Linked DNA regions of Homo sapiens: all the other regions are linked to region 4. The links are contacts of gene promoters, found by promoter capture Hi-C in blood cells and fetal thymus (Javierre and others, 2016). All regions are on one chromosome and are shown on one strand. The core of a region is centred on a gene start or on the middle of the fragment in contact, and the rest is flanking DNA. Distances in the headings are between cores, read along the strand shown.

Region 1 (2,884 bases), core at 27-2,526, 1.8 Mb after region 4:
TATCACAGAATCGTAAAAAAAAAAAATATGAAAATCCAGTTAACACCTCATCTAACAGATAAGCTCTACTGCTGAGATGGGTCAAAGCAAATGTTCTTCCATCTGGTCAGCAGCACTACTCAATACTAAATATCAATATTCAATACTAAATATATCTTACTTATTTCCTATATAAAATTTAAAAATCCATCTATGAACACCCAATATCACACTCTTAAAATCAAAACAAGCAGTCATATTTCATATACAGTATCAAGTAATGCTCTTTATTAGCTCTTTAGTATCTCTTACTTAGTTGTCTGGTACTATACATAGTTTTGTTATATCTCTTACTACATCTTAAATTGTACTTCATTTTCCTGCTGAGAGTAGGAATTGTACTTTTACTTTCCTCTAGTGTCTTGTATTGTCTTTGAGACCTTCTAAAGCTTACAGTAGCTTAACAGTTATCTATTAAAGCAGTAAATATTGTCTGCAAATATATTTATTATCCCATTAAGTGAAAGGAGCAATGCAATTTGAATTACCATCACAAAGCAATTTGAAAAAAAAATAATAGAGTTTTTCTATTATTTATTTATAAGAGAACAGCCTATATCATATCCCATTATATGGAGGATCAGAAAGTAAGGAAAGAAAACAGCAGGTAAGAAGATGAAGGTATAATGTCTCGAGAAACCAAACATCCAACTCTTAATATTGATTATCCCAAGGGGTGGGATAAAAGTTCTCACAGGGAGAACTTTTTAATTTCTTTTTAATGTTTTATGAGGAAGACAGAAGACATTATCAGAAAAAATATATTTTAAGACAGAAAAATTCATCTATTAGCATAAAACAGTAAAAATAACTATCAAAATATTGAAAAAATAATGAGGACATGACCTGGCAAAAAGGATTCTGGGCTCTGGGGCCAGATCACTTGCATTCAAATCTCAGTCCTGCTACTTACAATAACTGTGTCTGTGACCTTGAAAAAGCTACTTATTCACAATGCTATCTTACAGCGTTGTGAGTATTAAATGAGATAAATGTTCTATGTAAAGTACTCAGAACAATGCCTAATACACATTAAGTGTTCAACAAGTATTACTTGTTATAACTGTTGCTATAGCCAAAATACAGAATGAACTTGTGCAACCACACTAGTATTCAAAAAAAACTGCTAATCAAAGCAATTTTAAAATTCATTTTCCTTTAATTTTTACATCAATAAAATCTTTTAAGAAAAAAATTCATTTTCCAATTGTCAACTTGGCTACATTACTTATATTAAGTGAAACTACCCCAAATTGCCAAGGATGTACACTCAAGCACTGCTGTTCGGAGTGTATCACTACAACCTCTAGCAAGGTATATCAAGGACTTCAAAGGTTTCCATACTATATCTAAGTAATACTATTTTTGTCAAAATTTATGCAAAGATGGGTATAAGAAGATCAGTACAGTTATTTATAGCAACAAAAAAACTGGAGTCTAAATGCCCCTATAATCGAGGGTGAACTATTTTTTCTTGGCAGCAATTAAGTCATTTTAAAAATACATGTTATAACAATGAAATATACTCATGTTAAGATAAAAAGCAGCATACAAAAATAATCATGCCTGAGTATTGTGGCTCAGGCCTGTAATCCCAACACTTTGGGAGGCCAAGGCAGGCAGATCACTTTAGCCCAGGAGTTTGAGACCAGCCTGGACAACACGGGGAAACCCTATCTCAACAACAAAAAAAAGACAAAAATTAGTTGGGTGTGGCGGCACGCGCCTATAGTCCCAGCTACTCTGGAGGCTGAGGTGGGAGGTCGAGGCTGCAGTGAGGCATGAGTGTGCCACTCCACTCCAGCCTAGGCAAAACAGTGAGACCCTGTCTCAAAAAACAATCATCATCATCATCATATAGTTTAGTTCTAATTACCTGCTAAGCCTATCATAGCTAGCACAATCTCTGGCATATGGTAAATGTTCAATAAATATTTGTTAACTACATGAATGAACAAAGAGACAAATTCAATCTCTTTATCCTGTATTCCTTGTTTCTCATTTGTTTGGGTCCAGTAGCCCAGCTCTATATAGGGGAAAAAATGTTTGAAAATATTAACGAAAAATTCATTTGTTTTAATCTTTCAAAGCTTCACATGTTTGCTGCCCCCAGAACCTGGCCAACTGAAAATTCTGAGTTAGGGTTGCACCTATGTTTGCAATCAAAGTTTTATCTGTATCTGCTCAGCTCTAAGAGTTCTCTAGCAGATTTTGGTAATAGGTAATAAATTTGGTTGGTTTTTATTTTTAAATACCATTTCAAAGACAGTATCTCTATTAACTAGTAGTAACTCTCATACTTAGGATTTGATTAAAGAAACTGCTATTTAAGGGACCTTTTTATCCTTTAGTAAATCCTAAAGATGTGACTACTAACCAATGGGTATTTCAAAGATTTGGTTTTAAAATGTTAGATTGTTTTGCCTTTGCTTAATTTTCTTCTTGTGCAATAACTATACCACACCCTAAAAGAATTCTGAGTGAACTCTGGGAAATCAATGTTGGTTCTCATGTAATAATGGTTTTCAAAACAGTCTTCAGTTATAACAACAATAACTAATATGCATTGAGTGCTGTATAATAAGCATTTTATGTGGGTCTCCACCAACTAACAGAGAAATTCTCAGATATGTTCTTAACTCAATAGCTGGCTAAATACTACTTTGAATTGGGTCACTGATTTTTAAATTTTGTTCCATGAGGCACTACAGATAGCGGCTCCCAAATCAGGTTAAAAATCACAAGTAATCGGGGTGCTTTTCAAAAATGCATTTTCTCAGAACCAATCCAGGCTTAATGAATTTGAATCTCTGAATTTTTTTTTAATAAAAGTTTCCTATGATGG
Region 2 (3,092 bases), core at 102-2,601, 1.8 Mb after region 4:
ATCCACCCGCCTCGGCCTCCCAAAGTGTTGGGATTACAGGCGTGAGCCACTGCACCGAGGATTCAGTAGTTCTCAACTGGGGAAGATTTTGCCCCCCAGGGGACATTTTGTAATGTCTAGAGACAATTTTAATTGTTACAATTTGTGGGATGAAGTTGAAGTCCAGCCTGAACAACATAGCCAGACCTGGTCTCTAAAAAATTATTTAATATAATACAATAAAGGCAAAAAAAATTAATGCAGTTGTTCCTCAGACTCCTCAGGGGATTGGTTCTGGGATCCCCCTCAGATACCAAAATCCTCCGATGCTCAGTGCTCAAGTGCCTTGTATAAAATGGCATAGTATTTGCATATGACCTATGAACATCCTGCCGTTTTCTTTGAATCACCTCTAGGTATTACTTATAATACCTAATGCAATGTAAGTGCTATGTGAACAGTTACTATACTGTATTTGTTGTTTTGAAAAAAGCAGGTTATTTATATGGTACAGTATGCAGCTATTATTTAACAGAACAATATTATGAGATATACATGAAATATGTTAAGGATGTGTGTATATATATTCATACATTTATATGAATATATATAACAGTCACACATACATACACATATATTGAGGTATATGACTAGAACCTACACAGCTTAAGGTAATACTGAGGCCTTTATCTGAATAAGTAAAAACAACTCACAGAAGTGTTTTCTCATTTGAGAGAAGCCATTATAGGGGTAAACATTAAATATGCTTAATGAATTCAAAGGAGGGCAGTCAAGCAATTTTAACCTCTGGCATTAGATGTCATGATTTTAGAAAGATTCATACTCCAGGTTTAGGAAAACAAATTCATCCTTGTTATAAATTGTGCAGTTGTATTCTTAGAAGAACTGATAAGAAAAACTTCTAATTGTTTTGAGTGTTTACAGGTTATAAAATTTATAGAACCTAGTGATATATATATATTTTGTTTTATATTCCCGGCAGTGATTCTGTTCATGTGGATTGAATTGGAAACATTTGCTTTGGGCCTGCCAAATTTTGGAGCACAGGATGTATTGCCAGTTATTTCTTATAGTATTACTGTAGAGACAATAACAGAAACTAGTCTCAGAACTGATTGCTGATAACACCTTTCTAAATAAAAAGCACTAAAGAATCAAGCTTAAGTAGTCTTAGGATCTGAAAATACTGTCCTGCTTTTATAGTACTTTCATTTATTTTTAGTTTCAGAGAAGGAATTTTTATCAGCCTTGCACAAACTCTTGCTGATCAATATTTGTGACCAGTAGTAAACATTTGTGATGTGGCAAAGGTTAGACTCAGGTTTCTTTTCAAAGCTGTCTTGGTTTTAAAAAAAAATCCCAGCCTGGGTGACATAGTGAGACCTGGTCTTTAAAAAAAAAAAAAGTAATCTTTGAATTAGCTGATATAATTGTTAATTTATCAATTACAGTTGACAACTGATTCAGTTATCAGTTGATAATTGGTGAGGCTGTGGGCTAATGCTGTAGGCTTCATGGAAATATAAAGTTCTTGAAACACACAGAAGCTTGAAACCTTTTCTAATCCTTAGCAGTAACTACAGCTTCATAGTCCCTTATCTGAAACCCTTAGAACCAGATGTTTTCAATTTTTACCATACTGTTAGCTTCTCTGGGGCAGTACTCTCAAATTTTTTTTTTATTATGGAAATTTGCAGACATACCCAAAGCAGTGAGAATAGAAAAATGAAACCTCATGTATCCATCATCCCTCTTTGGTAATTATCATTTTGCTGATTTTTTTTCATCCTCCACCCTTAATAATATTTTTGGAGTAAATTGGCCTTCCTATATCTGTATTAAAAATATTTGGGAAAAAACTCAATAAAAAATACAGTAAAAAATAATACAAATTTAAAAATACAATATAGTAACTGTTCACATAGAACTTACATTGTATTAGGTATTATAAGTAATACCTAGAGGTGATTCAAAGAAAACGGCAGGATGTTCATAGGTCATATGCAAATACTATGCCATTTTATACAAGGCACTTGAGCACTGAGCATCAGAGGATTTTGGTATCTGAGGGGGATCCTAGAACCAATCCCCTGAGGAGTCTGAGGAACAACCACATTAATTTTTTTTTTGCCTTTATTATTATTATATTAAATAATTTTTTAGAGACCAGGTCTGGCTATGTTGTCCAGGCTGGACTTCAACTCCCAGGCTCAAGCAGTCTTTCCACCTTAGCTCCCAAGTAGCTGGGACTACAGGCATGTGCCACTGGGCCCAGCTCTTACTATTATTTTTAATTTATACATAATAACTGTATTATAAATATATAAATACATATTTATGGGGTAGAGTGTGATATTTCAATACATGTCTACAATGTATAAAGATCAAATCAGAGTAATTAGCATTTTAATGACCTTAAACTACATTTTAGAGCAAGTCACAGACATGTCATGTCACTAAAAATGTTTCAATACACATCTCTAATAAGGACTCTGGGTTTCATATGATTACCATGCAATAATTATACCAAAAGAAGAGTTATAAATTCCTTAACGTCATCTAGAACCTAGTTTGTTTTTAGATTTCCTCAATTACCTTAAAAAAAAATTTTTTTTTTTGAGATGGAGTCTCGCTCTGTCACCCAGGCTGGAGTGCAGTGGCGCAATCTCGGCTCACTGCAAGCTCCACCTCCCGGGTTCATGCTATTCTCCTGCCTCAGCCTCCCAAGTAGCTGGGACTACAGGCGTCCGCCACCACGCCCAGCTAATTTTTTGTATTTTTTTATTAGAAACAGGGTTTCACCATGTTAGTCAGGATGGTCTTGATCTCCTGACCTTGTGATCCACCCGCCTCGGCCTCCCAAAGTACTGGGATAAAGTTAATGTTTCAAACCAGGATCCAACAATACCTACAAACTGCATTTTTTGTTAGGTATCTCAAGTGTCCCTGATTCGCTCTTTTAAATGCAATCAATATGATGGAAAAGCCTAGCCACTGTTCTATGAAATGTTCCACATTCTGGATTTATCTGATTGCATCCTCATGGTTTCAATTAGCTTGTTCTCTTATCTCCCATATGTCTTGTAAATTGA
Region 3 (3,039 bases), core at 326-2,825, 1.7 Mb after region 4:
AGACTTTTCTAAAAAAAGAAAATACAATTGTATACTATTTGACCCAGATAGGAACAATATTTATGTCACCATAAAAATATAAAAATTGAATATTAATTTGACCAAATATGTGATGTAATTACAATAGAATGACAGAAGGAGAAAGGGGTGTGGAGGGGGTTAGTGGAATTAGAGGGCTCAATCCTATTCTTCCACAGTACAAAGTAAGCAGATTATGTATAAAATACAAAACCAAAAAAGAACAGCATAGACTGTGTAGAACTGTAGAAGCAAAAGCCAAAAAAAAAAAAAAAAAAAAGAGGAAAATAATTGCCTCCTAGGAGTAGTACTCAGAGTGCAGAAAAAGGTAAGAGACTGTTTGGTAAGAGACTGTTCTATTTTTCAGCACAAATCACTCATTTAATTGGTTTTTTTAAATCATGGATAGGCATTACCATGGATTATGTGCAACTTACATAATTTTTTCAACAATAAAAAATATTACCTTCATTATTCTGAATATAAAAAATGAGAAAAATTGGCCGGGTACAGTGGCTCATACCTGTAATCCCAGCACTTTGCGAGGCTGAGGCAGGCGGATTGCTTGAGCTCAGGAGCTTTAGACCAGCCTCGGCAACAAGGCAAAACCCCGTATCTACGAAAAATACAAAAATTAGCAAGGCGTGGTGGTGCGCGCCTATAGTCCCAGCTACTTGGGGACCTGAAGTGCGAGGATTGCTTGAACCCAGGAGGTCGAGGCTGCAGTAAGCCATGTTTGTGCCACTGCACACCAGCCTGGGCAACAAAGTGAGACCCTGTCTCAAAAAAAAAAAAAGAGAGAAAAATGAACTGTAAGAAATAAGGTGGCAGAAATCCTCAAGAAGCAATTATACCTAGATCCAAAAGTATGCTTAAAAAATTATATATATCATGATCAAGTAGCATTTATCCCAGGAATGCAAGGATGGGTCAACATGAGAAAAATCAGTGTAATTTACTACATAAATGGTGTAAAAATGAAAATGACATGATAACCTTAGTAGATACCGAAGAGGCATTACTGCCTTAAAATTAATGCTTTAAAAGGTGTTAAAGCCCAAAACCTGTTTATGATTTTAAAAAGAATTATTGGAAGAACAGAATCAGAAATTTCTTAACACAATAAAGGATATCTAACAGAAATCTACCACAAACATACTTAATGGAGAAAATTTAGTTACATTCCCTTTGAGGTTGAGAAGAAGGTATAAATGTCTTCTCCCTTATCTAACTAGAACTAATACTTAATTCAATACTAGAGGTCCTGGTCAATGTGTAAAATTAGACAATGATGAGAACTAACAGAATTCAACAGGATTGTTGAATCAATAAAATAAATCAATAATGTGGCAGTGTACTAGAAGTAGCAATAAAAAAAGACACAATTTACCACAAAAGCAGAAAATGACAAATATTTAGAAGTTACCATAACAATAATAAAAAACTTAAACTCAGTTACAGAACAGAAAAAGACCTGAAAAAAAAAAGCCATAGCATTCATTGAGAAAGTGATTTAACATTGCAAACACATCAATTTTCTCCACGTTAATCTAAATTCAAAGATGTTCCAATTAAACTCCTAACAAAAATTTCTGGGTAGCATGACAAATTGATTCTGAAACTTTCACGTTAAACCAATTGTCAACAAATATTTAAGGTAATGCTGGCGAACAGGGAGACTTGACTTAATACCAGATATCAATTACAAAGTCATTGTAATAAAAAGTGTGGTTACGGCCCGGCGCGGTGGCTCACACCTGTAATCCCAGCACTTTGGGAGGCCAAGGTAGGCGGATCACCTGAGATCAGGAGTTCAATACCAGCCTGGCTAACATGGTGAAACTCCGTTTCTACTAAAAATACAAAAAATTAGCCGGGCATGGTGGTGCGCACCTGCAATCCCAGCTACTCAGGAGGCTGAGGCAGGAGAATCCCTTGAGCCCAGAAGGCAGAGGTTGCAGTGAGCCAACATTGCGCCATTGCACTTCAGCTTGGGCAACAAGAGCAAAACTCCATCTCAAAAAAAAAAAAAAAAAAAAAAAGTATGGTTACTAGAAAGGGAACGGAATGACAAATCAACTGCCTATACTAGACATCCAAGAAAGAGACTCACTTATTTGTCAGGCCATTTTTCCTACATATGCCATATATGTACAGATCTGAACCATGAGTTTCACACACTGAAATTTTCTGAATTTATTGTTATATTTAGACTTTGCTTCTTTCAGTCTAGGGAGACTGGAATATATTAGAACTAAAAGATTCAACTTTAATTTTCCTAAAATAGTATTTTCTTCCATTTCCGTCCCTAACCTCTAGTGCTCCTCCATGTCCTCCTCCCTCTCCTCCTCCCTTAACCACAGAAGATATTTCTGTTCTTTGTTTGGCAAGGGGGGCTAGAAGACAGACAGATGCCAATCACATATCACATTGTCTCTAAATTTGCATTTTAGCAGAGATTTATTACACACGTAAAGATATAATGCTTTACATGCATAGGTTGAATATGCCTTCTCTGAAATGCTTAGGACCAGAAGTGGTTTGGATTCTGATTTTTTTCAGATTGGGGAATATCTGCATTATATATACTTAACAGTTGAGCATCCCTAATACAAAAATCCAAAATGCTCCAACGAGCATTTCCTTTGAGCATCATGCTGGTGCTCAAAACATTATAAATTTTATAGCATATCAGTCTTTGAATTAGAGATACTCAACCTGTACAGTATTTAATACACTGTGTTCAAATTATTAGTTCCCTTTCTTTGACCCCAGGCACCCAGTCTGATGTCTCCATATATAAATTCTCAACTAGCTTATACTCTAATTACTAAAAGAAGAGTTGGTGAAGAAAAAAAGCAGCATATGATGAGGTGGTTGCACATGAAATAAACTCTTTCCTATAGAGTAAGTAGCTCTCATACTTGAACATGCATTAGAATCACTTGGAGAACTTGTCAAAACACAAACCGCTAAACTCCATCCCCAGAGTTTCTACTCAATAGGTGTGGGGCTGAGCTG
Region 4 (3,164 bases), core at 13-2,512:
AGGAATATGACTCACTTAAAATTTCAATGACTCTTACTGCAAAAAAAATAATAAACTTAAGAAAACCAAAGTTGAAATTAACATGAAAAACCACGAACCTTTTATAAATGATGACCACTCTTGTCTTTTTTAAATAATTCAAGAATATAGCAATGTATTACATGCAATTTGGTTGACCAATATTATGAATAATTGAATTGGTATTAAGTCAAGTAATTATTTAAAAGATATTTTCAGAAACTTTAAAAGATTCCTTTTCTAAAGCAAAATATCTGACTTTTGACTGGGAAAAAGATTGAAGAGCTTAAGAAACAAAATATCTACAGAGATGAAAGGGAGCTTCTGCATTCCTAAGGGACCCATATAGTGTCAGCCCATAGTTCTTCACACGTGCCCATAGCCTATTCTTCAACGCTAATAAGGAGGGACAAAAAAGGTCTTTTATTTTCTAGTGTCTATTTCCCAATCAGCCACCAATTAATGCTAATGCTAAGATAACCAAGGTTAGCTGCAAAAAAGTTTCCAGAAACTCATTGGAACTAATCAATTAGACTTGGGCAAGTGACTTATCATTGCAAATTCATGAATAATAGCTAGAGAAATACTACCAACTTTGATTTTTGTAGCATTTTATTAAAGAAGAAAAATGAAAACAACGACATTCAAGAAATTCCATGCTACTATTCAAGTCTGCATGAGAACATCTATTCAAAAGATAATCAGAAGCTATAGTCATTCAGCTGAACAAGTGAACCACTTTATCATGGGCCAGCTTGAAGATATAGCTATACATCACTTAAAAATGGATAATAAAACAATATCATAATGTCTACTTGCCCTCTGTCTGGCTCCTGGAAGCCACTCAAAAGAACGTCTTTCCAATGACATACAGTAATTCTTGAGGAAAATTTTTAGATCCTGACAGGCACTCAAGCATCTCAGCAGGAGACATTGGGTTTCTGGCTTCTGTTAGATAACATCTTACCCTATGATCACAGCCAAATTTTACAGACTTCCTTCTAATTCAATCATAAGTGCTGAAAAGAGAATGAGTAAAAGCCTGTCTCAGTTCTTATTAAGGTATATGCAGAGACTTTGGAATCTTCCTCATATTCTCAAATATTTTACTCCTCAATTAAAGTCCCCCAAAATTATTTCATTCATATTACCTTTCTCTGGGCTTTTTGCAGGATGTGTTCAGGGCGGTTGACTGTGGATCCGAAGAGGGATTTTAGCTTCGTCTTATGAGTTCTCAGTAACTGCAGTTAATGAAGTCCTCACCTGCTTTTATACCAGCAGAGTGTTTCCACCTGCATCTAAGCCCTGGGATCAACAGGAAATTCCATCCAATGATTGAAGGGTACTTGGTGTAATTACCATGACGTCAATTTTTACCATGACGTCAATTTGATCTTATCTTGTTTCAACCCTTAGGTCATTTTTGTTTGGAGCCATTTTCAGGTGATGGTGACGACAAGGTCAGCCCATGAAAAGAGAGTACGCTGTCACTTTGTACGTAATTTTATTGAGCCATACACATAACATCCTGAAAGCTGACACTTTCCTATAAACAAGAGACATTTAATTAGCTAAGTACCTGATATTTACCTAAACAAGAGCTATAGATTTCCGAAAATAGATATAGAGCATTTCCAGGCTTATACCACTATTTAATTAGGAAACAGAAAAATAAAACACACACCTATTTAGACTTTTCTAAAATTAATTTGCATCTGAATTTAATAAAGATGCATGAGAAAGGTATGAGGCAATTCTAAGAAGGACTGAATGGTTCTCAATATACGTGCCTGGTTTTTGGTTTTTTTTTTTTTCTCATTTCACTTTTGTAAAGCTCAGTTTCTGCCTGAACAGAAAATATGTATGTCATGGCTTGCCAGGTGTGGGACACTTAGCTCCAAGGTTCCCAACCCAGTGTCACCCTAAAACCTGCACAGCTCTTCAGACTACTGTGGCTTCTTTTTTGCACACAGAGATTATGACCCTTCAAAAGTTCCTATCTTTATCTACTCCGCTCAGTGCCACTTCCGTAAGGAACTGGCTTAGATACAGACTACCAAGGACCTCTTCAACAAAGAGTTTAGAAGATCTATGTGATGCAAAAAGCAATTCTTGTTTAACATAAAGAAACTTGCCAAAGAACGCAAAGTTGTTTTGTGATTTATTTTCTGTGATAAACAAATTTGTTTAGGTTCTTACACCTTTTCAGATTTCCGTTGTTTCCTTCCAGTATGCATCCCAACCATTCACCTTTTCTTAGTGATGCTCCTTTTTGGGGGACGAGTGGGGGAGACGGAATCTCGCTCTGTCTCCCAAGCTGGAGTGCAGTGGCACAATCTCACTGCAGTCTACACCTCCCGGGTTCAAGCACTTCTCCTGCCTCAGCCTCCGAGTAGCTGGGACTACAGGTGTGCGCCATAATGCCTGGCTAATTTTTGTATTTTTGGTAGAGACAGGAGTTTCACCATGTTGGCCAGGCTGGTTTAACCCCTGACCTCAAGTGATCCACCCACCTCGGCTTCCAAAAGTGCTGGGATCACAGGCATGAGCCACCGTGCCGGGCCTTCCTAGTGATGATTGATGCCACCATTATTCAAGAATTTCTACATTTAAATATCAACCAACTGGCAGTATATTTTCAATGTAGCAGACTTATTTTGAAAATCTTTCCATCTAGGCATTTCACTCTTCTTTGTTCTATTCTTTCTCTTTTATTTGTGCCTTCTTTACATCCTTTTATTTCTTTTTTATCTGAATGATTACATAGAAACAATGTTTCTAGGATGCTCTTATTAAATTATTTTTGTTTGGCTTATGATTTCATAGTGGATTTTATTTTTATTTCACATTTCTATATAAGAATTATGAATATTAGGGAATTCTTATGAAAATGTTTATTGTGTTTTTAAAGTTTACATACTGTTTTTTAATTTTTTTAGTGATGTGGCTACATAAATAATACAAAAGTCAGTGCCTTTAACACCTGACTTATCTTCCCCATTTCCTCAATTATTCTACTCAGAAGCAATGTTTCCAGTTTCTTACTTGTGTTTCTGCAGATACTCTATGTATATACAAACAAATTATATTTAAGTCTCCATCCCTGTTGAAATTCTCCTTAAAATAACAAACAGAATACAAAAATT
Region 5 (3,184 bases), core at 392-2,891, 1.7 Mb after region 4:
TTATTTGACAGAAAAGTCACAGGCCTTTAAGTAACAGTGGCTCATTACAGTAGTAAAGGGTCAAAAAAAGTAAGGGGAGAAAGGAGTGTCAGCAAGAGAGAATAGGCCCAAGAAAAAGAGTAAGTTTGTGTAGCTTGAAACACACTATGCACATCCCACCGCATTTGCAACCTCTGCCAAGGAAATTTCATACTTACAGGCAAATCATCCTTTAGTTCCGTTTCCTACTTGTTTATAGTAAGTGACTACAAGAACACTTAGAAACCAATATCAATCTAAGTTATTAAATCTAGAAAAGTTGAATGATGGTATAGTTTTAAAATATCTCCTAATAGGTACCTAATGATAAATTCTAAAAAGCTTTAATATGTAATTTTATTTATATAACAGATATTAAATATCATTCACATTCTCTTGCCTGGAAATCAAGACTCAATTTTGTCTAATAAGAAAACAACATGTATCAACTCTTCTGTTTTTACACAGCAATAATTCAGAAACTTAAGTAACTCCTCATCTCATTGCACATCAAATCATTCATATTAATTTGGAATACTAGACTTGATATTATTAGGAATTTCAAAGCACCTTTATGAAAATTAATGATTATAAAATTTTAGAAAATGGGGCCAGGTGCAGTGGCTCACGTCTGTAATCCCAGCACTTTGAGAAGCCAAGGCGGGCAGATCACCTGAGGTCAGGAGTTCAAGACCAGCCTGGCCAACATGATGAAACACCATCTCTACTAAAAATGCAAAAATTAGCTAGGCATGGTGGTGCATGTTTGTAGTCCCAGCCACCTGGGGGGGCCAAGGCAGGAAAATTGCTTGAACCTGAAAGGCAGAGGTTGCAGTGAGTCAAGATCACACCACTGCACGCCAGCCTGGGCAATAGGGTGAGACTCTGTCTCAAATAAATAAATTAATTAATTAATCTAGAAAATGGTATTTTAAGAATACTGTAGCTCCCAGTTATTGAATGTAGATTCAACAATGACACAGATTCTATGAGTAAAATATATTGAAATACCCATTAGAATGTAATTCTACTTCAGAAAAAATCACATCAATTTTGTGCCTACAAAACACCTAGTAAAATGCTCAAATACTTTAATAAAATAATTAAAAATACAGAATTTCAAAACTTACTACAAAAATATCTGTCTCAGGTACACTTAATTTAAAAATGAAATATCTGAGATTATGAAATAAGCTAACAATATTTATGAAAGATTATATAAATCACTACCAAATAATCCCTTTTTCATGATCCCCAAAATAATAAGAGCAAATATATTACAAATACAGAAACTGAATAAGCCTTTTAGAAATAAATATTTATGATTTATCAAACTTGAAATACAGAATCTTGCTGAACTATAAACAAGGATATAAAAACACCATTCTACATGTTCTCGTGTATAGTCAGAGTAATATAATTCAATTTACCAGCATGTATCTAGGTTAAAATAATTATCAGAGCTATAGTTAACTGATAAATACAATACTTAGTTTATAGAAATAAATCTGATTGTATGAGGTGAGCTGTCAAAAAAAAACTGGGGATATGTTAGGTGTAAACGTAATTACCAATATAACCCAAGATATCCATTGCCATTGTAAAGTCAAAAACATAATAAATGTAAACGTCAGGCAGCAAAATAAGATGCTTAAGAAAGTGTTGACCAGATGAGAACAGAACCTGGCTTAGAGGTAGAAGATGGCCATATGCCAAAGAGAAGTCTGTAAAACTAAGGTGGACAGGAAGCTAACTGGAGGTATACATGATATATATTTGTGGTGTAAAGCACTGGTTCTCAACTAGGGGAGATTTTGCCTCCAAGGGATATTTGGCAATGCGTGGAGACATTTTTGGTTGAACAAGAGGTGGGGAGGGGGTGCTACTGCCATCTAGTGGTTAAAGGCTAGATATGCTACTAAACATCCTACAAAGCACAGGGCAGCTGCCCACAACAAAGAATTCTAGCCCAAAATGTCAATGGTGCCAAGGCTGAGAAAACCTGATGTAAATGAAGCTAGCATTAGTAACGGCAAAGGAGCAACGTATTTAGTCCCTCTTTGCCTCTACTAACGTAATTATTTTAAGCAAGTTCAAAGTGGGCTTTATCTATCTCATTTGTAAAAATGCAATAATAGCATTTTGCTTGCCTAAAACAGGATATCTAGACCAGAGATATCTAAAAACACCTTGCAGGCTTATGTTATTCTATTATTTCCACTAGTAAAATGTGAGTAGTTATCACCAGGTTCTACAGTAAAACCTGAGACATAATGCCTTCTTCACAAAGATCACATCTGAAGCTAAGAAAGATCCCTGTCCTTACTATAATATTAGTTTTATTACAGCATTTATTTTTAAAGAAAACTTTAGAAATCCTAGACAGTAATGCTACTAGAGACAGTAAAACAATGGAATCAATTATGAACGCACATTCTTCAAGAATCTATTATTTGTCTTTTCACTGTTACACATTATACAGCATCCACTCCTCTAAGACTCCAAATACACTTACAATGAAAATTACTCCCAAATCTTCATCTTTTGTCCTAACTTTCTCCCAAATAAAAGTATGCCAGGCACTGGCTTATTCATTAGTACCCTAAAGGCAGCCTAAAGTTTTAAATCTAAAACTGAATCATTTATATTCTTAAACAAAAAACTAGTTCATCTCCATTCTGATTTCCATTTCTGATTAACATAATGCTCCTAACCAGAAAGGTTCAAAACTCTCGAATCATCTTTGATGCGATCTCTACCAATTCCATATTCCACCAATTATCTCTATTACTTTTTCACCCAGGCTATTGTGATCAACCTAACTGTTATCCCTATTATCAACAGGCCCTATCAAATACAACTGATCCTGAATCCATCTGGTTAGATGGTTTACTGAAAATAATACAAGCTTCTCAACCTAACAACCAAAGACCACCTCCCCGTGCCCACTTACCTAGCCTTATTCATCCTCTCTAGTTTTATCCCCTACTATGCCCTTTACACAGAATAATTAAGGCAGCAATAACTTCTAAGGGCTAACATCGACTGAGTTTTTCACTTTTCACCAGTTACTGGTTTGAGTGTTCTTAAATCACTTTATTCTCAAAATAGCTCCATGAGGTAGTTCAATCTAACATAGTACCCTTTTCTCATGGATCACAAAACA
Region 6 (3,297 bases), core at 456-2,955, 1.8 Mb after region 4:
GTTTACAGTCAGAGAGTCTAAACTAGTAAAACCCTCTATCCTTTGTGTATTGAAAGATATTGCCCTACATTCATCAAAAAAAGTTGGTCTTTCTGACTATTCTAACCTCTATCATTATATTGGTAACATCAACATCCATTGAAATAACTCGACCTGTTGTACAACCTTTACAATAGGTCATCTCATTTACAATGACCCTCATCTTTGTCCAACTGGAACATCCTGCTCCATGGCACTACCACAATCATTTCAAACCACTCTACCTTTTGATTCAATACAACTCACATTGATTGAGTGCCGACAGCATTCTAAAACTAACATGTCACTATAAACTCTTTTACTGTCACTCTGCTCACTTTTCAATTTCACCAAGACTAACAGTCCCTTCATTTCTCCTTTACATATTCTAACAGCACCCTCATCCTGACCTTACTTCCTATTCAGCCTAGAACCTATGGCTGATTACTTCAATTATTTTTCCTCTGACAGCCTCAGTGCCCCTTACCCTCTTGTTCTTCATCACACCCAAACTGAATTTCTCCAGCCTTGAGTCAACCTACCGTTAGTCTTTTCCACTCTCATACATAGGCAGCTGAAACTTACTGAGGAAAAAATCACAATCTCAATTACATCTCCAGTACTAAGAAAGATATTTCCCTCCTATTGCTGAAGACCTATTACTCCAAAAACTGCATTTGACCTCCATTCCCTTGCACTTCCTCAGAGATTTCTCTATCATTATTCCCCAAATCTTTACTTTCAACTTCATTGACTTCACTAGCTCCTTATCCACACTAATAAATATGCTTGAATTTATCCCATACTAAAAAGCCTTTTCTGACTATGTCTGCATCAATTACCCTTCTGCTCCTTTTTTTATCATAACCAAGCCACTTGAATGAATAGTTTATAGTAGTGTGCAGAAAAGGGTTAACCTAACACTAGTGCTTGCAAAGTTGGCTCCTGAATGGCACCTGAGAACTTGACTTTTGGAGTGTTCTCAGTCAACTGATAAGGATGGCTCACCAAACCTAGATTACTTGTCCCAAAAATACAGTTTATGCTGAATAAATTTTTTTCCTCCTGGAATCCTGGAATTTTGCTACATGCTAAGCACAGAGTGCCTACATGACCGGCCATCAATAAAAATCTTGAGCAGTGAGAGTGTAATGAGCTTCCATGGACAGAAACATCACAAATACATTGCTGCAGGAAGAGTGAGCTCAGGATGACCCCTCATGAGAAAAAGAGAGCACAAGAAAGCCTACACATTAACTCCCCCCAGACTCTACTTGTCTTTGTCTCTTATGATTGAGCTGTATATCCTTAGTACGTTGCTGTATAAATCTGAGTTATGAGTACAACCATATGCTGAGTCCTGAGTTATTCTAATAAATCTCCAGAAGTGAGGGTGGTACAGGGAACCCCTAACACAACTCAGTCTCCACTTTCTCGCCTTCCATTAGCTTCTTAAAATTACCAGTCTGACCCAGCCCTACTGCACCACAGAAAATAATCCTCAGATAAATACTTTCCGTCCTTATTGAATTTTGTCCTCTCCATGAAATCATACTGTTAAATTGCTCCCTTTAAGTTAATTCTAAACTATTTCTCATATTTTACATTTCTTTTGTCTTTTCATGCTGCATGCTGGAAGGATTTCATAGCTAGATCCTCTAGCTTGATAATTTCATTCTGCTACTCATCCCACATACTAAGTGGTTTTTTAATCTTATCATTTCCAAGATCTCTAATTTGTTCCTCTTCTTAATAGCCTGCTATTATTTTATGGATTGATAGCCTCTCTTGTCTTCTAAAGAAAGGTTCTATTTGCTTTCTCAAATAGAAAAATTTTTAATTTTTCCTTTCTTAGTATATCTAGTATTACTTTTATATAGGACTTAATTTTTACAATATATAATTTTTAGTATATATACTGTGTGTGTGTGTGTATATATATATATTATATATATGTATCTCCCCAGTATATATTCTTCTACACTAAGTTATTCTTCTATACTATGTTTTCTGTGCATATGCAAAGAAATAACCAAAAAGTACAGAGCAAATGGCTTGGGAATGAAGAAATATTTTGCCTTTTAACTCTATATACTCCTAGATGTTTGCATTTATATTTTACAAAAAAAAAAAAACTCATCTTTAAGTCATCTGTGTATGTTTTAAAGCTAAATAAATAAGTAAATAGGGAAAAATTATTCTAAAAAGACAACAATACCAATGGTAGTATGAAAGTTGAAGGATTATAAGTTTTCTTTCGTTTTCAAACTTTCTTTAATAAACTAAAGATTAATGTTCTTTCATCTTTAATATATTACTTATATGAGTAAAATATTTAATAATTTTAGGATTTACTAATTATGGTTTGAAAAAAGAAAAAACTACCAAAAGGCATAAGGTTTTAGAACTTTTTTTTTTTCCTAATTCGGCCTTTGGAGGTATAAGCACAAATATTCTCAAAAATCACCAACTCATAACAGAAATCAAGACTAATTGCTTTCTCCAAAAAGAGAGAAAGAAGGTTTCGGCTTTTTTTTTTTGAGACAGCCTATCACTCTGTCACCTAGGTTGAAGTGCAGGTGAATGCAGTGACATGATCACAGCTCACTGACTGCAGTCTCAACCTCCCAGGCTCAAGCAATCCACCCCACCTCAGCCTCATAAGTAGCTGAGACTACAAGTGCACACCACCACACCTGGCTAATTTTTTAATTTTTTGTAGATACGAGGTCTCACTACGTTGCCCAGGCTAGTCTCAAACTCCTGAGCTCAAGCAATCCTTCCGCCTCGGCCTCCCAAAGTGCTGAGATTACAGGTGTGAGCAACTGCACCCAGCCTAATTAGACTAACTTTGTAGCCACAAAAAAAAAAGCTGGACAATGTTAAAGAATTCATTTGAAGACCTCAGAGAATTAGAAAGGCAATAAGGACTTGAAGGGCCAAAAACTCAGGAGGAAGGGAGGCCAGAGAGGTGAGCTAGACATCTTCTACAGCTTTTCCTTTCTAGTACTCTCCTCTAGAGGCACTGTTTCAAAAATGGTAGCTAAGACACTAAGAAGCTGAACAGAAATTTCAGTAATATCACAGCAATGGGAAATAAAAGCTGGAGTTACAGGTCTTCAAGTGGAAGGAGTCCAATTTAATTCCCCACACTTTCAATGAAGATCCTCACAGGCTATAGGAATAAGAGCAGAGCAAAAATAGACCACTGCCCCAAAACTAAAGTCTAGTTTCTAACAGCTCAATCCTTAATTAAGATATTCTGCTCCTAATTCTCTG
Region 7 (3,119 bases), core at 54-2,553, 1.8 Mb after region 4:
TCAAAAGGAATTTAAATCAACAAAAGGGAAGATCAAATAAAAAGCAATGATGACATCATCTGCAAAAATGGCATGGAAGACACACAACCCATCATGTTGTTAAGGACTTAGGCTGGCATTTTGCAAAGCTGATATTCACCAAAAGGGTATTTCAAGGCAAATAAGTTAGGAAACCACTGTATCTTTCTCTTAGAACGTCAAGATATATATTAGGATATTTAAAGTTATGATAAAATATATAAATAAATCTGTTCATCTTATTTAGTCCATTGTTTCCTAAACTTAATCCTGATATCTGTTAAAATTTGACAGAATTGGTATTCTATACTTACAATTTGAGAAAAGCTGACTTAAGCTAATAAATGTTAGAATTCAGAAAAAAGAAATGGTTTACTCTTATGATCATGTAATAATGATAACTGAAATTATATTTCCCCTTTCACTGACTGCCCAGAAGTTGAGAATTTTAAATTTAATGTTTAAACACAATAGGTATTATCCCAGGGTGAAGATGTATTTATTTTACACACACACACACACACACATCTTAGTATCAGACCTTTTCTTTTAAATCAAGTAGAGTATCAATCAAAAGAAAATATTTTCTATGCACACATGTGTATAAACAGATTTAAAAGACTAAGGAAGAAAAAGCTTTAGAGGACGGGATTTACAAAAGGATAGCTTCTGCATCTGCAGAAACACCAGAGAAATTATTTAGCACTTGGTATTTAGGGATTCTTCTGCACACATAAATTTTCAGGCTTTGGAACACAAGTTCCTGAGCTATGATTTTTAGTTTGAACTCCAGTCATTCCAAATCATATGTTCTTTTGTTATGCGATACTAACAAAAAGTAAGGAGCTATTTCATGTAAGGAATGTGGAAATATTTCCACATCACTCCAAAGTCCCTGAAAGCAGCCAGATTCTTTAAAAAGAAGCAACTACCTCACAAACTGTCAGATACTGCCTTAGTATATAACTATGATGCAATATAATTTCTTATTAATTAGGAAATTATCTCAACTGCAAATTTAATATTCAGAATTATCAATAGGTATTTGTATTATATTCATTCATTCCCATTAAAAGGCAAAATTTAATTCAGTATACGTTTCCCAGATAGAAAATGCTAAAGTATATAAACCAAAGGTATATGGATTACAGAAAAGCCAGATGTATAGACTACTTTACTGTAAATGCAGGTTTTCTACCAAAACTGGAAATAATCTTTCAGAGCAGTTGCTGAGATGTGAGATATATAATTAAGTAAAACAACCAAATATACATTAATAAAATTAGGAAGTACATAATTAAAGAGAAGGAAAACTGACAGAAAACAATGGTAACTAATACCACCTTAGAGTCCTAATTCACATTCCTCCCAGTAGTCTGAGAGTAAAATGGTCGTTAAACTCCTGGTAATTTAAAGTTATCACCAATTTAGACCCAACTCTGATCATCAATTCAGGAATTTATCTTATACTCTATGAAGGCAGAAATCCTATCTATTTTGTTCCTTCTCACAGCTTAAGTATCTTGCACAGTCTACCTGAATACACACTAAAGGAAGGCACTCAATATTTGTTAAGCAAAGCTGTATGTACAACAAAGTTCATCATAATATTTTATAACAGTGAAAGGATAAAAACTCAAATGTCCATCATTCAGCAAATAGGTAAAATAAATATTGCATATTCATGTAAAAGCATACTAGTCAAGCATTTTTTAAACAATGATAAAAATATTCATTAATATGGAAAGAGATTTACAATATATTTAGTGGGAAAAAAGCAAGTTTAAAACCAGAATACATTAAATAATTACAGAGGAAAGGAGGAGGACAAAACTGTATGTATATCGTAAATATAGAGTAAAGCCTATACCAAAATAGTAAGAGCTGCCCCATCTCTATGTATTAGAATTATCAATGATATTTGCTTTCCTCATTAAGCTTTTCTGTACTTTCAAAATTTTTAGAAATAAACACAAATTGCTTTTAGACACAGGGGGCAAAATTAAAGCTTTACAAGGGGGAAAAAAGCCACCAAGCCAGAAATGTAGTCTATAATCAGACCCAGAGAAACATTTTCCCTTTGCAAAGTGGCAATGAATTAAGACAGGATTCTAACCCTTGTTCTTTGTACCACAGTGGCTTCAAAACAACAGATATTCCTCTTCTTCTGTCATACAGCCTCCATACTAGAGCATTTTGATGGGCAATAAAAACAGAAAAGCTGATCATTTACATTGATTTATTTCACCACCATCTCTATCTCTATCCATTTTTCCTAGCCCCTATCAAACTTATTATGGCTTTTCTCTTAAATTTTTTAATCAATTATTTTTTAAAATATAAGTTAAAGGGCCGACCTGGAGCCAGTCTAGATGCTAGGCAGTACTAGATGCTAGGGTTATAACAGCAAATGGCACAGACTCTCTTCTCAACTTCACATCATTTACACTCTTAAAAAGAAAACAAGATATTAAATAATTCCAACCATAATACATATTAGAACAGTGAAGAAGAAGCTATTACAGGAGCCTACAAAGGTAGAGCCTGTCAGAGTTTGGAGATCATGGAAGGCATTCCAGAGGAATTCATGCATAGCTGATAATAACAACAGGTTACACTTACTGAGCAATTACTATGTTCTGAAGAAAAGAGCACTTTTATTAACTCATTTATTAACTCATTTAATCCTTACAACAACCTCACCAGGTCAGTAAAATTATTATCCCCATTTTCCAGATGAGGAAACTGAGACATTGCCCAATGTCATAACGCTGACACAACGGCAACGCTGATATTAAAATTTAGACAATAGTTTGTTTGTACACCCTCTACAGTATACTAACCCTCACATTCAATATGTAGGAGTCAACCCAGCACAGGTTGTAATGTGAGAGAAGAAGAGAAATGAGGGATGGGAGGGTTGGAGTACACAGACTAGTAGGTGCAATGTCCTTCAGACAAGATAGAATGCAGCAATGTTCTGGTAACTAAAAAAGGTTCAGAATACTCAAGTGTAAAGAGAAAGCAGGAAAATGGTATGAAATGAGACTAAAGAAGTAACAGACAAATAGGAATTATGAAAACTTTTTTTTTTTTCTGAG

The links. The method cuts DNA at HindIII sites, captures the fragments that hold promoters and counts their contacts. A CHiCAGO score of 5 or more calls a contact.
Region 1: a fragment that was not itself captured here is called in contact with the fragment with the promoter of CGA in region 4 in 3 of 17 cell types (naive B cells, total B cells and total CD4 T cells); the score reaches 7.7 in naive B cells.
Region 2: a fragment that was not itself captured here is called in contact with the fragment with the promoter of CGA in region 4 in 1 of 17 cell types (total B cells); the score reaches 6.5 in total B cells.
Region 3: a fragment that was not itself captured here is called in contact with the fragment with the promoter of CGA in region 4 in 1 of 17 cell types (total B cells); the score reaches 5.5 in total B cells.
Region 5: a contact is called between a fragment that was not itself captured here and the fragment with the promoter of CGA in region 4, in 1 of 17 cell types (M2 macrophages). The highest score is 5.1, in M2 macrophages.
Region 6: a fragment that was not itself captured here is called in contact with the fragment with the promoter of CGA in region 4 in 2 of 17 cell types (total B cells and naive B cells); the score reaches 6.5 in total B cells.
Region 7: a contact is called between a fragment that was not itself captured here and the fragment with the promoter of CGA in region 4, in 4 of 17 cell types (naive B cells, total B cells, M0 macrophages and 1 more). The highest score is 7.6, in naive B cells.

What each region holds. Positions count from the first base shown.
Region 1 is chr6:88,874,644-88,877,527 of GRCh38, forward strand. The region is part of intron 8 of RNGTT (RNA guanylyltransferase and 5'-phosphatase); the gene reads right to left. Among named protein-coding and RNA genes, the nearest start is that of RNGTT, 88 kb to the right of the region's middle. The HindIII fragment of the contact is 1,701 bases long and covers 427-2,127 here.
Region 2 is chr6:88,919,928-88,923,019 of GRCh38, forward strand. The region is part of intron 4 of RNGTT (RNA guanylyltransferase and 5'-phosphatase); the gene reads right to left. Among named protein-coding and RNA genes, the nearest start is that of RNGTT, 42 kb to the right of the region's middle. The HindIII fragment of the contact is 388 bases long and covers 1,158-1,545 here.
Region 3 is chr6:88,797,664-88,800,702 of GRCh38, forward strand. The region is part of intron 12 of RNGTT (RNA guanylyltransferase and 5'-phosphatase); the gene reads right to left. Among named protein-coding and RNA genes, the nearest start is that of RNGTT, 160 kb to the right of the region's middle. The HindIII fragment of the contact is 4,929 bases long and covers 1-3,039 here.
Region 4 is chr6:87,093,844-87,097,007 of GRCh38, forward strand. It overlaps CGA (glycoprotein hormones, alpha polypeptide), which reads right to left and starts at 1,263. Exons shown (of 4, transcript NM_000735.4): 1 at 1,170-1,263. The HindIII fragment of the contact is 11,698 bases long and covers 1-3,164 here.
Region 5 is chr6:88,779,084-88,782,267 of GRCh38, forward strand. All of the region lies in intron 12 of RNGTT (RNA guanylyltransferase and 5'-phosphatase), which reads right to left. Among named protein-coding and RNA genes, the nearest start is that of RNGTT, 180 kb to the right of the region's middle. The HindIII fragment of the contact is 2,566 bases long and covers 359-2,924 here.
Region 6 is chr6:88,896,723-88,900,019 of GRCh38, forward strand. The region is part of intron 6 of RNGTT (RNA guanylyltransferase and 5'-phosphatase); the gene reads right to left. Among named protein-coding and RNA genes, the nearest start is that of RNGTT, 65 kb to the right of the region's middle. The HindIII fragment of the contact is 3,959 bases long and covers 1-3,297 here.
Region 7 is chr6:88,855,894-88,859,012 of GRCh38, forward strand. The region is part of intron 8 of RNGTT (RNA guanylyltransferase and 5'-phosphatase); the gene reads right to left. Among named protein-coding and RNA genes, the nearest start is that of RNGTT, 110 kb to the right of the region's middle. The HindIII fragment of the contact is 1,302 bases long and covers 653-1,954 here.